Regions from separate parts of the Homo sapiens genome. Here region 1 is linked to region 2. Evidence: promoter capture Hi-C in 16 types of primary human blood cells and fetal thymus (Javierre and others, 2016). All regions are on one chromosome and are shown on one strand. Each heading gives the region's core, a stretch centred on a gene start or on the middle of the fragment in contact. The rest is flanking DNA. Distances are from core to core; before and after follow the strand shown. Region 1 holds the start of PLD4 (phospholipase D family member 4). Region 2 holds the start of CRIP2 (cysteine rich protein 2).

Region 1 (5,700 bases), core at 303-2,802, 550 kb before region 2:
CGCCTGTAATCCCAGCACTTTGGGAGGCCGAGGCGGGTGGATCATCTGAGTTCAGGAGTTCGAGACCAGCCTGGCCAACATGGTGAAACCCCGTCTCTAATAAAAAATACAAAAATTAGCCGGGCGTGGTGGCACGTGCCTTAATCCCAGCTACTTGGGAGACAGAGGCAGGAGAATCGTATGAACTCGGGAGGCAGAAGTTGCAGTGAGCCGAGATAAAGCCGTTGCACTCAAACCTGGGGTACAAGAGCGAGACTTCTCTCAAAGGAAAAAGAAAAAAAAAAAGACAGAAGAGAACCTGTTCTGTCTAACTGCCTTTTGCTTGAGTGCAGGGAAGGCAGCCTCCCTTCATACTCATGCCCCAGCCCTGCAAATGTCACAGCAGGACCCACCTGGCTGCCCCTCCCCATACCCAGAGTAACCCTCACCCAGAGTCCCTGGAGGACCCAACCCTCGGGGGCATGCCTGGGGCCCAGCTGCATTCAGGCATCCAGCAACCCAGCCAGAGGGCTGGGGCTCCCCAACCATGGCCGGGAGGTAAGGGCTGAACCCAAGGCCAAATCAGAGCATCAGGAAGGTGAAGAGAGATCTGGGAGGGGCTAGGGAGAGGATGGATCTCTTCCCCATTCACTTCCTGGCCCACCCAGACTGGCCCCAGGGGTGCAGCTGACAGGCCCCACCCTTGGGAACTGCACCCTCCTGACTGGTGTCCTGCAGGCACCCTGAGGCCATCACCCTGGACCCCTGCCCTACATAGGCCTTACAAGGAGGAGCCAGGGTGGACACCCAGACCTCATTGAAAGTAGGAGTGTTCTCAAGGTCCCAGACCTTACTCAGGGACCCCAGTCGGGGGGTGGGGCAGTGGGAGGCAGAGCCCCTTGCTAGGAGCTTCTAGCCAGGCCCACCTTTTCAGATATGCCAGTGAGCAGCCCCAGCTTCGTTCTCCAAGATAAAGACCCTAGTTACCTCCATTGCTCAGCCTCCCTTGCAGCTAAGTGTAGCCATGTGACTAAGTTCTAGATCAAGTTCCAGATCACAGATAAGTGGAAGTGCCCTGTGGGACTTCCAGGAAGTCTCCTCTGGGATGTCCCTTATTCTCTGCTAAGAACACAGAGGCAATGGCTGAGTTCCAGCAGCCACTGTGAGGCCATGAAGGCAGGGATCCTAGGGACTGGGATCTGAGAGCCTGGCTCCCAATGGCAGTGGAGCAATGCCATCATCTCTAGCAAGGCCGTCTCTAGCCTGCCAGCCCCTGGACCTGCTTAGTGTTCGAGAGTAATGAACAACCTTGCTGAAGCCACTGTTCCTTAGGTGTCTGTGGCCTGCAGCTGAACTTGACTCCGATTCGTAGGCCCGCAACTGGAGGGCCTCTACCTCGAGGGAGTGGGGTGTAGATTTTTCCTGGAGGTGAAGGTTCTCAGCCCTACCCTCTAGCCCGCCCACCCAGCTCCAGCCGTCTGTTTCTGTCTCAGATGAGAGGGGGCCTCTCAGGACAAAGAGGAAGTAGCTGGAAGGGGAAGGAGCCAGCTGCAGAGAGGAGGAGGTGAGCTGCAGAGAAGAGGAGGTTGGTGTGGAGCACAGGCAGCACCGAGCCTGCCCCGTGAGCTGAGGGCCTGCAGTCTGCGGCTGGAATCAGGATAGACACCAAGGCAGGACCCCCAGAGGTATGTGCCAATGAGGCCAGGGCAGCTGAGAAAAGCCAGGCATGGGGAAAGGGCTGCTGTCTGCCTCCCTATGGCCTCAGCCTCCCAGCAACCCCAGGTCCAGAGAGTCACACAGCCTCCAGCTAGTCCTGTAGATGACTCGCTCCGTCCCCAGTCCGTGCAGCTGGGATAAGCTGGGCCCTGGCTCTCCAGCCAGGTGACAGCTGGGCCCTCTACCTCAGCCTGGGACTGGCAGCCATGCCTAATGCCCTGCAGGGCAGGAAATCTGGCACCTTCAGCCATGACCTCTGATGTCTGCAGGGTCTTACGCTATCTACCATGGGACCAGGGGGCTACAGCCCTACTCTGCAGGGGTCTCTCAGCTTGAGCCAACCTGGCTGGCGGTCCTCCCAGGTTCCATTGCAGGAGGAGGTGGTGAGGCGCTCTGGGGTCTGTAGTCCTGGGAGGGGACTTGGACAGGCTCCAAGTCTGAGATGGGGCCTGCAAGAGGCAGCGCCTCTGTGCTCTGAGCTGCCCGTCTGCCTGGAGCATTTAAGGGAGCAAAGGTCCTCTCTGGTGAGGGCAGGGAGTGTGGGGAGCAGCTGTCCAAGAACAGCCCTGGCACCTCGTTGCCCAGCCACAGCCCAGGATTCCATGTTTCCTCTCATTGACCAGCCACAGCCCAGGATTCCATGTTTCCTCTTCTGAGAGTTAGTGGGGGAGAGCAAAGGCCCGATGCTGGGCCCTGAATCCCTGGGGACAGTGGGGACACGGTGGGCACCCTGAGGTCTCCTCTGTGGGGTGGGGGGAGCATCCCCCAGAGTTCAGCTCTGGGGTGGGGGCGGCACCCACCCACCTCTGCAGGACCCCCCAGCGTGGGGGGAGTTGGGCCGCAGTGACTTGGCCTGAGTCCCCTGTCCCCACACTTGGTTTATGCTCCTACCCCCAATCCCCCATAACGCTTGGTCTCCAGGGCAGACTCAGTCCAGGCCCGACTCCTGTGGTGTTCCTGGCATTTCCGCCCCATGCTGAGGCAGGCCAGGTTCTCAAAGCCCTCAGCCCTGACCCGTGGGAGGACAGCCCAGACGAACCCCAGAGGCCTGGAGGCTGAGCTGGCTGCTCCTGGGTGGACAGCCGACCCACCGAGCCCTGGGTCCCAGCGCCCAGCCTGGCTGCAGACACTGGCACTCAGCACTGCCCAGGCCCAGGCCCCAAACCTCGGAGACATCCCCATCCCAGCCAGGGGCCAGCCAGCTCCTGCCCTGGTGGATGTCTCAGTCAGAGGCTGGCCAGCCAGGTGACCATGCTGGGCACAGACCCCTCCCTGCACCCGGGGAGGGCGCCTCTGTACTTGTGAGGCACCCTTCCCCCATGGTGGCACCTGGGGCAGCCTGACTGCTTGCTTTGGGGGTAGGAGTGGGGATGGGAGCCCACATCCCACAGGGCCCAGATGGCCTGGCTCCCAGCTCCTTGTGGGGTGACCACTCTGAGGAGATAAGGCGAGTCCCTGCAGCAGAGGACAACCCCCTCTGCCAGCAGTAGGGGTCCCACTCTGCCGCCATCTCTGCCCTCTCCACGCCTAGCCTCTCCAGCAAGGGTACTGCTCAGCTGCCCCCTCTGACCTGTGGCTCTCTGGAGGGGCTGCCGTGGGGCCAAGACAGGAGCCCAGCCCAGGAGGGAAGCAGTTATTTATAGGCCAGCAATAAGAGGACCAAGCGACAAAAGCAGAAACAGCCCTTTCAGACGCAGTTTCAGTTGTGGTTGAAACAGGGAACTGAGATGCAAATACCTAGATACTCACTGAGTGGGAGACCCTGAAAGGGGAGACACAGAAAGCCGGGGCATGTGGCTAGGCACAGACGCCCGCCCGCCCCTCGTGCTTGGCCCAGGCTCAGCCCTGGGGACCGCCTTAACAGCAGTCCTTCCGGCTTGGCCAGGGGGACAGGACAGGTGACATGTGGCCGGCTGCGGGCTCCAACACCCACACGGCTTGTCCTCGTGGAAAGCACACCCCCAACATCCAGGGCGTGACCTCGGGCATGAGTGGGGGGCTTTTGGGGGCTTATGTGGGTGTCTGTGCAGGGGTGTCCCCAGTGCCCAGCTGCCCAGGCACTGAGGGGCAGTTCTGGGCAGAGCTGGAGCTGCTGGTGATGCCAGGCTGCCCTGTGCAGATGCTGAAGCCTCTTTGGAAAGCAGCAGTGGCCCCCACATGGCCATGCTCCATGCCGCCCCGCCGCCCGTGGGACAGAGAGGCTGGCACGGTAGGACTGGGGGGCCCCAGGGGGGAGGTGGCTGGGATCAATGGCCTTTCAAGAGCTCCGAGCCAGAGTGGAGAGGTCACAAGCAGCCTTGAGGGGGCCTCCAAGCAGAGGTGCCCTGACTGGTGGGCAAGGGAAGCCTCCCTGGGCTGCTCCAGACCTTCCCTTTATGCCCCTGCTGGAGGTGCTGGGGACAGCCAGTTACCACGAGCCACAGCATTGCAGAGTGGGCTGCAGGCCCCCTGACCCCTGCCACCACCCTGGGCTGGGGGCCTTCTCTGTATCACCCTCCCCTCTCCCTTGTCCACCCTAGTCCCACCCCAGTGGCAGCCCAGGTCCGGGAAGTCAAGACGGTCTCTGTCTCAGCACTGGAGGGGCCATCGTGGCCCAGCCAGAAGTCAAGCCCCGCCCTGTCTGGTGACCCTGCGGGTGCTGCCCCATCCAGTTGCAGGTCCTGGGAGCGCTGGCTGTGCTGTGGCTGGGCTCCGTGGCTCTTATCTGCCTCCTGTGGCAAGTGCCCCGTCCTCCCACCTGGGGCCAGGTGCAGCCCAAGGACGTGCCCAGGTCCTGGGAGCATGGCTCCAGCCCAGCTTGGGAGCCCCTGGAAGCAGAGGCCAGGCAGCAGAGGGACTCCTGCCAGTAAGTGAGCCCATGGAGGCCTGCGGGGGCAGGTCTCAGTTTGGGGCTGCTGCCTGTGTTTCTGCCCTTGGATCTGCCCGTGAGATAAGGGGGGCCCTCTACCAGCTCCTCCAGGAAGGTGCAGGTCACCAGGGAGGGCCACGACCATATGAGCTGGAGTGGGGGCTGGGGACGGGGCAGGCGTGTGGTGCTTTTTGCAGCAAACAGAGGCTGCCACCTGGGGGCTCTGACAGGCTGGAGAACACTGCCTGTGCTGAGGCTCACCCCCTCAGTCCTTCCACCCCTGGGGGTAATGTCACTGTCCCCTGCCGCCCCTCATCCTTCCCTCCCACCCTTCTTTCCCTGCGGTTGGGGTCCTGGAATCCCAGGACTGCCCCGGAGGAACCTGTTGGGCCATCCTGCACACATCCCCTGGAAACGGGAGCTTACCTGCCCCTGGCCCAACCTTTCCCTTCCAGGCCAGCTCTGGCCACCACCAAGGGCTTCCACACCACGAGGCCACCCCAGACCCCAGACTCCACAGCTCTGCTCTACTCTGCCCGGCTTCAGGAGCAGCTGCTCCCTGTGGGCAGTGCCTCAGGGCTGAGTGGGGCCAGGACCCCCCAGTCTAGCCTGCTCTGGACCAGGCAGCCCCTCTCAGGCTCCTTCCCAAATTGCTCCTGGGTGTCACCACCCCAGCAGCATGCTGGGCTCAGGCCCACCCTGCCCAGTCTGTTTTGTTGCCTATACCTTAAACCCTTACCCTGCACACTTGGCCTGGGCTCATCCCGGGGGCCACCTGAGCAACGGTTGCTCTGGCTTGGCAGTGGGATGGGGCAGGTGATGTGAGGTGGGCTGGGGGCTCCCGCACCCATACTGAGCCCAGTGTGGCTCTCCCCACAGGCTTGTCCTTGTGGAAAGCATCCCCCAGGACCTGCCATCTGCAGCCGGCAGCCCCTCTGCCCAGCCTCTGGGCCAGGCCTGGCTGCAGCTGCTGGACACTGCCCAGGAGAGCGTCCACGTGGCTTCATACTACTGGTCCCTCACAGGGCCTGACATCGGGGTCAACGACTCGTCTTCCCAGCTGGTGCGCCCCGCCCTGGCCCCACCGCATCCTGGTGCTGGAAACACAGCAAGTCAGGCTGCCTATCTATGCAGGCGTCTCGGGCACCAGGCCCGGG
Region 2 (5,231 bases), core at 940-3,439:
TGCCCCCCTCTCCACTCGGGCCCGTCCCACTGTGTCACTGCCCCTGCCTGTGACCCACCGCAGCCTCAGAGGTGGAGACCAAGGCCACTGCTCTGCACCCATTGATCCTGACCCCTGCCTGCCAGGCCCAGAATAGCCCCGTCGCATTAGGGAGCTTCTGGCCGCTGCCCAGGGACTGCGGCTGGGGTGAGGGCAGTGCAGCAGCTGGCACACTCCTTGTCCCACCCCACCCTCCGTGTGTCTCCAGGGCACCTGGCCAGTGCCGAATGCCATTCCTTTGCTGCCACCCTGGGAGGGGCCTGCCTCTACCCCCATCCACTCTTCTGGCAGGGCTGGGGACCTTGGGGCAGGTGGTCTCCCTCCAGAAGAGCCCTGTGTTCAGCCAGCCCTGTCCTCCAGAGCAAGCCCCACAGGTAGCAAGCCCCACAGGTAGCAAAGTCAGGGAGGGTAATGGCTTAGCCCCAGGCTCCCAAGCTGGGCAGAACAGGGCAGGGAGCTGGAGAGGGTTTGGCAGTGGGCCCATGAATCCAGCCTGGGCAAGGCCCTGCTGTGAGGGACCCCTAGGGACCCCTGGGCCTGCCAGGGAGGAAGGGCTGCCCAGAAAAGGTACTGACTGATGCCTCCTCACCATCTTCTGCCTTGGCTGGCACAGGTCCCAAGTGCAGAGGGGGAGCTGGTCAGGCTGGTCAGTCGGGCGGGGGGGCGGGGGGCATGTTTCTGGCCTGCTGTCACCATGGAAATGGCAGTGGCTGCAGGGTGTGTGTGCAAGGGAGGAGGGTGCTGCCACAGAGAGCCCAGCCAGGACCACCATGAAAGCCAGGAGCACCGAGGGCCTCTGGTTGGCTCACAAACATGCCTGGTGCACCAGGCAGAGGGAACAGGTAGGTCTCCGTGTCCAGCCCACAGCCTCCAAGACACAGGGGGAAGGGTGTCCAGAGTCAGCTGCCCCCATAGGGCCTGATCACTGGGCTTCTGGGATCTGCCTGTCTCCCAGGCCGACGCTCAGCTGGGGCCAGAAGGCTCAGAGAAGGGCCCATGGGGACAGAGCACCAGGAAGCCCGTGGGTGCGGAGGTTCCCCACCTGGGGCCAGGCTCTACGGGGCTCTAGGGCGGAGGCACTGTGGTGAGGCGTGGTCAGGCACGCCCTGGTTGGGAGGAGGCCAGAGTGGGGGTGTGGGGGTGCGGTGACTGGCATGACCCCTCAATCTCCCGCCTGACCCCTCGAGGTCAGGCCCTGGGCCCCCAGGCACGCAGCTGGTCCTGGGCGGTGCGGGAGAAGGGACTGGAGTGTCAGCCCCAGCCCGGGGCACAGAGGGCACGCCCACTCCTTCCCCTCCTTCCCTTCCTAACTCCTCACCGCCTCCCCGGCCGCCCCCTGGGTGGAAGTGCTTGGGGTGGACGCCTTAAGCGCGGATCCCTCGGCGCTGGTGCCCGCCGCCCCTTCCCTGCCTGGGAGGCAGACGCAGACCTCCCCACACCCCCTACCAGCAGCTTCTCGAGCTGTTTCTGGAGGTGGCGGCGCCTTCCTTCCTGAGCCCTGCCCTCCACCCAAGGAGCCTTCAGCACCACAGACAGTGTTGGGGCGGGGCGCGGGCGGGGGCGGAGCGGGACATGGAGACCCGGACAGGGCTGGGGGCCGTGCCCGCCGGGAATCTGACTCCGCTCCCGCGGCGCGGCTGTTGCTATGGAAACCGAGCAACAAAGGGAAGCGGGACAGGCGCCGCGCGCGGCGGGGTGGGGGTGGGGTTCTCCCGGAGCCTGCGACCCCTTCCCGCGGCGGAGCGCAGCCTGGGCGCCCAGGGCCGGGAGTGTTGGACCCCTAGGCCCAAGTCACTAGGGCTCCCCGAGAGCCGAGGGCCAGGCTCCCCGCACCCTGCCCGCCGCCCCGGGGACGGCCCGGCCAGGCGGCCCCGACGTCGCCATGGAAACAGCCGGGGCGCGGGCGGCGCCGCGGTCGCCCGGGCGGGCCCCTGTAGACGCCACCTCCGGCGCGAGGGGCCCGGGGGCGCCAGGCCTGGCCCGGCTGCCCCGCACCCGCCACCCCCGGCAGGTGCGCCCCGCCCCCGCGGCGCCCCCAGGCGGCCCCCAGCCCGGGGGACGGGTTATCGAGGCCCCGCCCCGGCCGCGGAGCCAATGGGCGCGCGGACAGCCGGGCAGGCGGGGCTGGGCGCGGGCGGCGGCGGCCCGGAGGAGAACGGGCGGAGGGCGCGGGCCGACCGGGCGCACCGACCATGGCCTCCAAATGCCCCAAGTGCGACAAGACCGTGTACTTCGGTGAGTGCGTGCCCGCTCCCGGCCCGCTCGGTGCATCCCGCCGCCCTTCGCGGCCAGTCCCGCGCCGCAGAGCCGCGGCGTAACTCGGGGTGCGCCCGGCCCCGGCCCCGGACCGAGGATGCGCGTCCCGGAGGCTGGCTGGCCGCGCTGCCCAAGCGGCTAAAGCCAAAGGGTGGGGCTGCGCGAAAGCGGGGGCGGTCACGCCCGAACCCCGAAGCGGCTTGTGGGGGCGGGGCAGGGACCACCCGGGCGGGGCTTGTGGTGCCCCGGGATGAGGCCAGTGTTTGGGGGAGCGCTCGGGGATCCGCGGACGCATCCCGGTTCCTCGGACGGCGCCGGGCGGGGCGGGGCAGGGCGTGGCTGTACGCCCCGGGTGCGTCCCGCGCGCTCCCGTGGGCCTGGGCCCTTTCTCCTGGACCCCCTACACCCGCTTCCCCCGGGAACAAGTGGCCGGGAACAGTGACCCCCAGCTCCCACTCCGGGCTCCGCTGAGCTGGGCTGGGCCAGGTTTGGACTCTGTCGGGATTCAGTCCAAGCGGGGGCGACCTTGGCCTCTGCCTCCTGCTTGTCCCGACGCATTCCCTTGGCGCCAGTTCCCCCAGGAGTTTCACACGGGGGTAGGGTGGGGGCGGGTGTGACACGCGAGTTCCCGCGAACGTGAGAGGGACCTTGTGCTCAAGCAGCCCAGGTGTCCAGGATCCCTGCCTCCTCAAGGTCAGAACAGCCCTGGACAGGATGCAGGTGGTGGCGGGAAGAGGGATGTCTCGCAAGGCGGCCCTCGGTCTAGCCCCTCCGGCAGGCGCGCTCCCCCCGTCTGGGCTTACTCACTCTCTGGGCCTGGGTGCGCCCTTCCTACCCCCTTCCTCCTGGCTGATTCGCTGCCCAGCTTTCTCCAGGGTGGTAAGGTCCCTGCCCACCTACCCACCAGCTGCTGCACGAAGGGGGGCAGACTTAGTGAAGCAGAGAGGAGGGCCGGGACCAACAGGGCGCCTGCCCTGGTCGCCCCATACCCAGAATGCGGCCAGGCTGCAGGGAAGGCCGCCACTGGGCTTCCCCGGCTCACAGGCTGGAGGGGGTTGAGGGGAGGTTGTATTTTGCCCGTCCCAGAGGGGAGGGACCGGATTTGGCCTGGAGTGCTTCTGGCGTGGCTGGGAGCCGAGGGGCTTCCGGCTGCCTCTCCTGGAGCCCGCTCAGCCCTCAGTCTCTGTCCCAGCGAGGGCTGTCTCTGTAAGGCTTAGGGTGGGAGACGGTCCCCAGGGCCCTTCTGCAGTCCAACTGCCCATGACTTTACCCCAGGCCGGGCCAGGCCAGCCTGGGGCTCTCCAGGGTCTCGGCCAACAGTCCTGTGGACAGCCCGGAAAGGCCTGCCTGCCTGGCCCGCCCAGCCTCTCAGCGGAAAACAAAGGCGCTTCAGACCCGGCTGGCTTCTGTCCTGCCTGGGAGGCACTGTGAGGGCGAGGGTCCAGAATCCTGCCCACCCTCACACCAGGCTGCCCCCGCAGCTCATACCTGAGTAGAACCCAGGCTGGGATGTCGGAGCACATTGAGGAGGCCACCCCAGAGCCCATGCAGCCAGGGTGGGCAGCTGGTTTTCTTCTGAGCCATTAGACCCAATCGATTCTGTGTTCCCAACTCGGACCCGTAATGTGTGGCCATTGACCCACCCAGTGGGTCTGAGGGCCAGTTCCCTGCCCCCACTTGGCCCACGTCCCAGAGCTGGCCAGAGCACAGTGCTGGCAGCCCTGGGCTGCAGCTGCCACGGCCGATAGCCACCGAGACTTCCTTGCTGCTGCTGGGACACGCCTGCCCACCGTGCAGCCAGCCCCTGCCTGCCCTGGTGTGTCCCAGCTTCCTTGAGTGGAGTGGTTCTGGTCAGAGGGCTCTAAGCTGGTGCAGCCTTGTGGTTGGGCTGGTGTCCTGGAGGCTGGCCCTGGCCATGCCCAGAGGGTTGTACCAGGGCCACGGAGAGCCAGTATTCACAGCCCTCTACCTAGTAGGCCACCTGGGGGATCCCATCTCACTGCCAGGAGCAGCACCCTTGGGCCTCTCAGAGTGGGCTTCGCCCTAGCCAGATGCCCCTCCCCGATATCTGCCAGACAAAGGGGGCTGGGCCACTTGCTGAGAAAGGGAGCTGGGAGAGCCACTGGTCCTCGGCCACCTGAGGGGCTTGGCCAGATTCTGCCGGGCAGGGTGGGCCCAGCCTGCATGCTCCCTCCCCCCAGGGCCTGCAGCTTGTCCCCTTCCCTTCAGAATTCCGGCTCTGCTGGGCCCTTCCTGCCCCTCCCCACCTCTTCCTGCCTGGCTCCCTAGGGAGGCCCCTGCTTCCATCCACTGGGAAGCAGTCCAGTAGCCCCAGTGTGGGGGTGGGAGGCAGTGGCAGAGGGTCCCGGACCCTCAGCAGCTGCCCTCAGATCTTCCATGCCAGTGGCAGCCAGGGGCATTACGGCGGGGGGAGAGCTCAGGGTTTAGGACGAGGAATCCACAGACAGATGAGGGTCCCGCCTGGAGGACCCACGGGGACGGGGCCTGGCCTTCCCATGAGGGAGCTGGAGGTTCTGGGGCTGCACCTTTGACTCAGCAGCGGGGTGCTGCCAGCCCCATCAGGGCCCAGTTGGTGGGGATCAGGGGCGTGTCAGTGCGAGGCAGGTGTGAGAGGGAGAGCAGCATGTGTTGAAGCAGGTGCACTGCAGAGGCAGGTGTGTGAGTGTAAGAGAAGTGTTTGAGGGAATGACAGGTGGGGGAGATGCATATGTGTGGGGGGAGGCAGGTGTGTGGGGGGAAGCGGGTGTGTGTCTGAGGAAGCGGGTGTGTGTGGGGGGAAGCGGGTGTGTGGAGGCGGGCGTGTGGGGGAGGCGGGTGTGTGTGTGAGAGGAAGGTGTGTGGGAGGAGGCAGATTTGTGGGGGGAGGCGGGCGTGTGGGGGAGGCGGGTGTGAGGCGGGTGTCCGGGAGGCAGGTG

Evidence for each region. Contacts are between HindIII fragments. The CHiCAGO score rates a contact against its expected background, and 5 or more counts as called.
Region 1: a contact is called between the fragment with the promoter of PLD4 here and the fragment with the promoter of CRIP2 in region 2, in 1 of 17 cell types (monocytes). The highest score is 5.1, in monocytes.

The regions. Positions count from the first base shown.
Region 1 is chr14:104,923,327-104,929,026 of GRCh38, forward strand. It overlaps PLD4 (phospholipase D family member 4), which reads left to right and starts at 1,553. Exons shown (of 11, transcript NM_138790.5): 1 at 1,553-1,664; 2 at 3,815-3,904; 3 at 4,347-4,540; 4 at 5,423-5,606. The coding sequence starts at 3,815. RefSeq lists enhancers at 1,726-1,895, 1,878-2,387. The HindIII fragment of the contact is 16,221 bases long and covers 1-5,700 here.
Region 2 is chr14:105,472,632-105,477,862 of GRCh38, forward strand. CRIP2 (cysteine rich protein 2) reads left to right here and starts at 2,190. Exons shown (of 8, transcript NM_001312.4): 1 at 2,190-2,274. The coding sequence starts at 2,232. RefSeq lists an enhancer at 632-1,164 and silencers at 1,193-1,242, 1,253-1,342, 1,433-1,582, 1,853-1,922, 2,103-2,212. The HindIII fragment of the contact is 47,861 bases long and covers 1-5,231 here.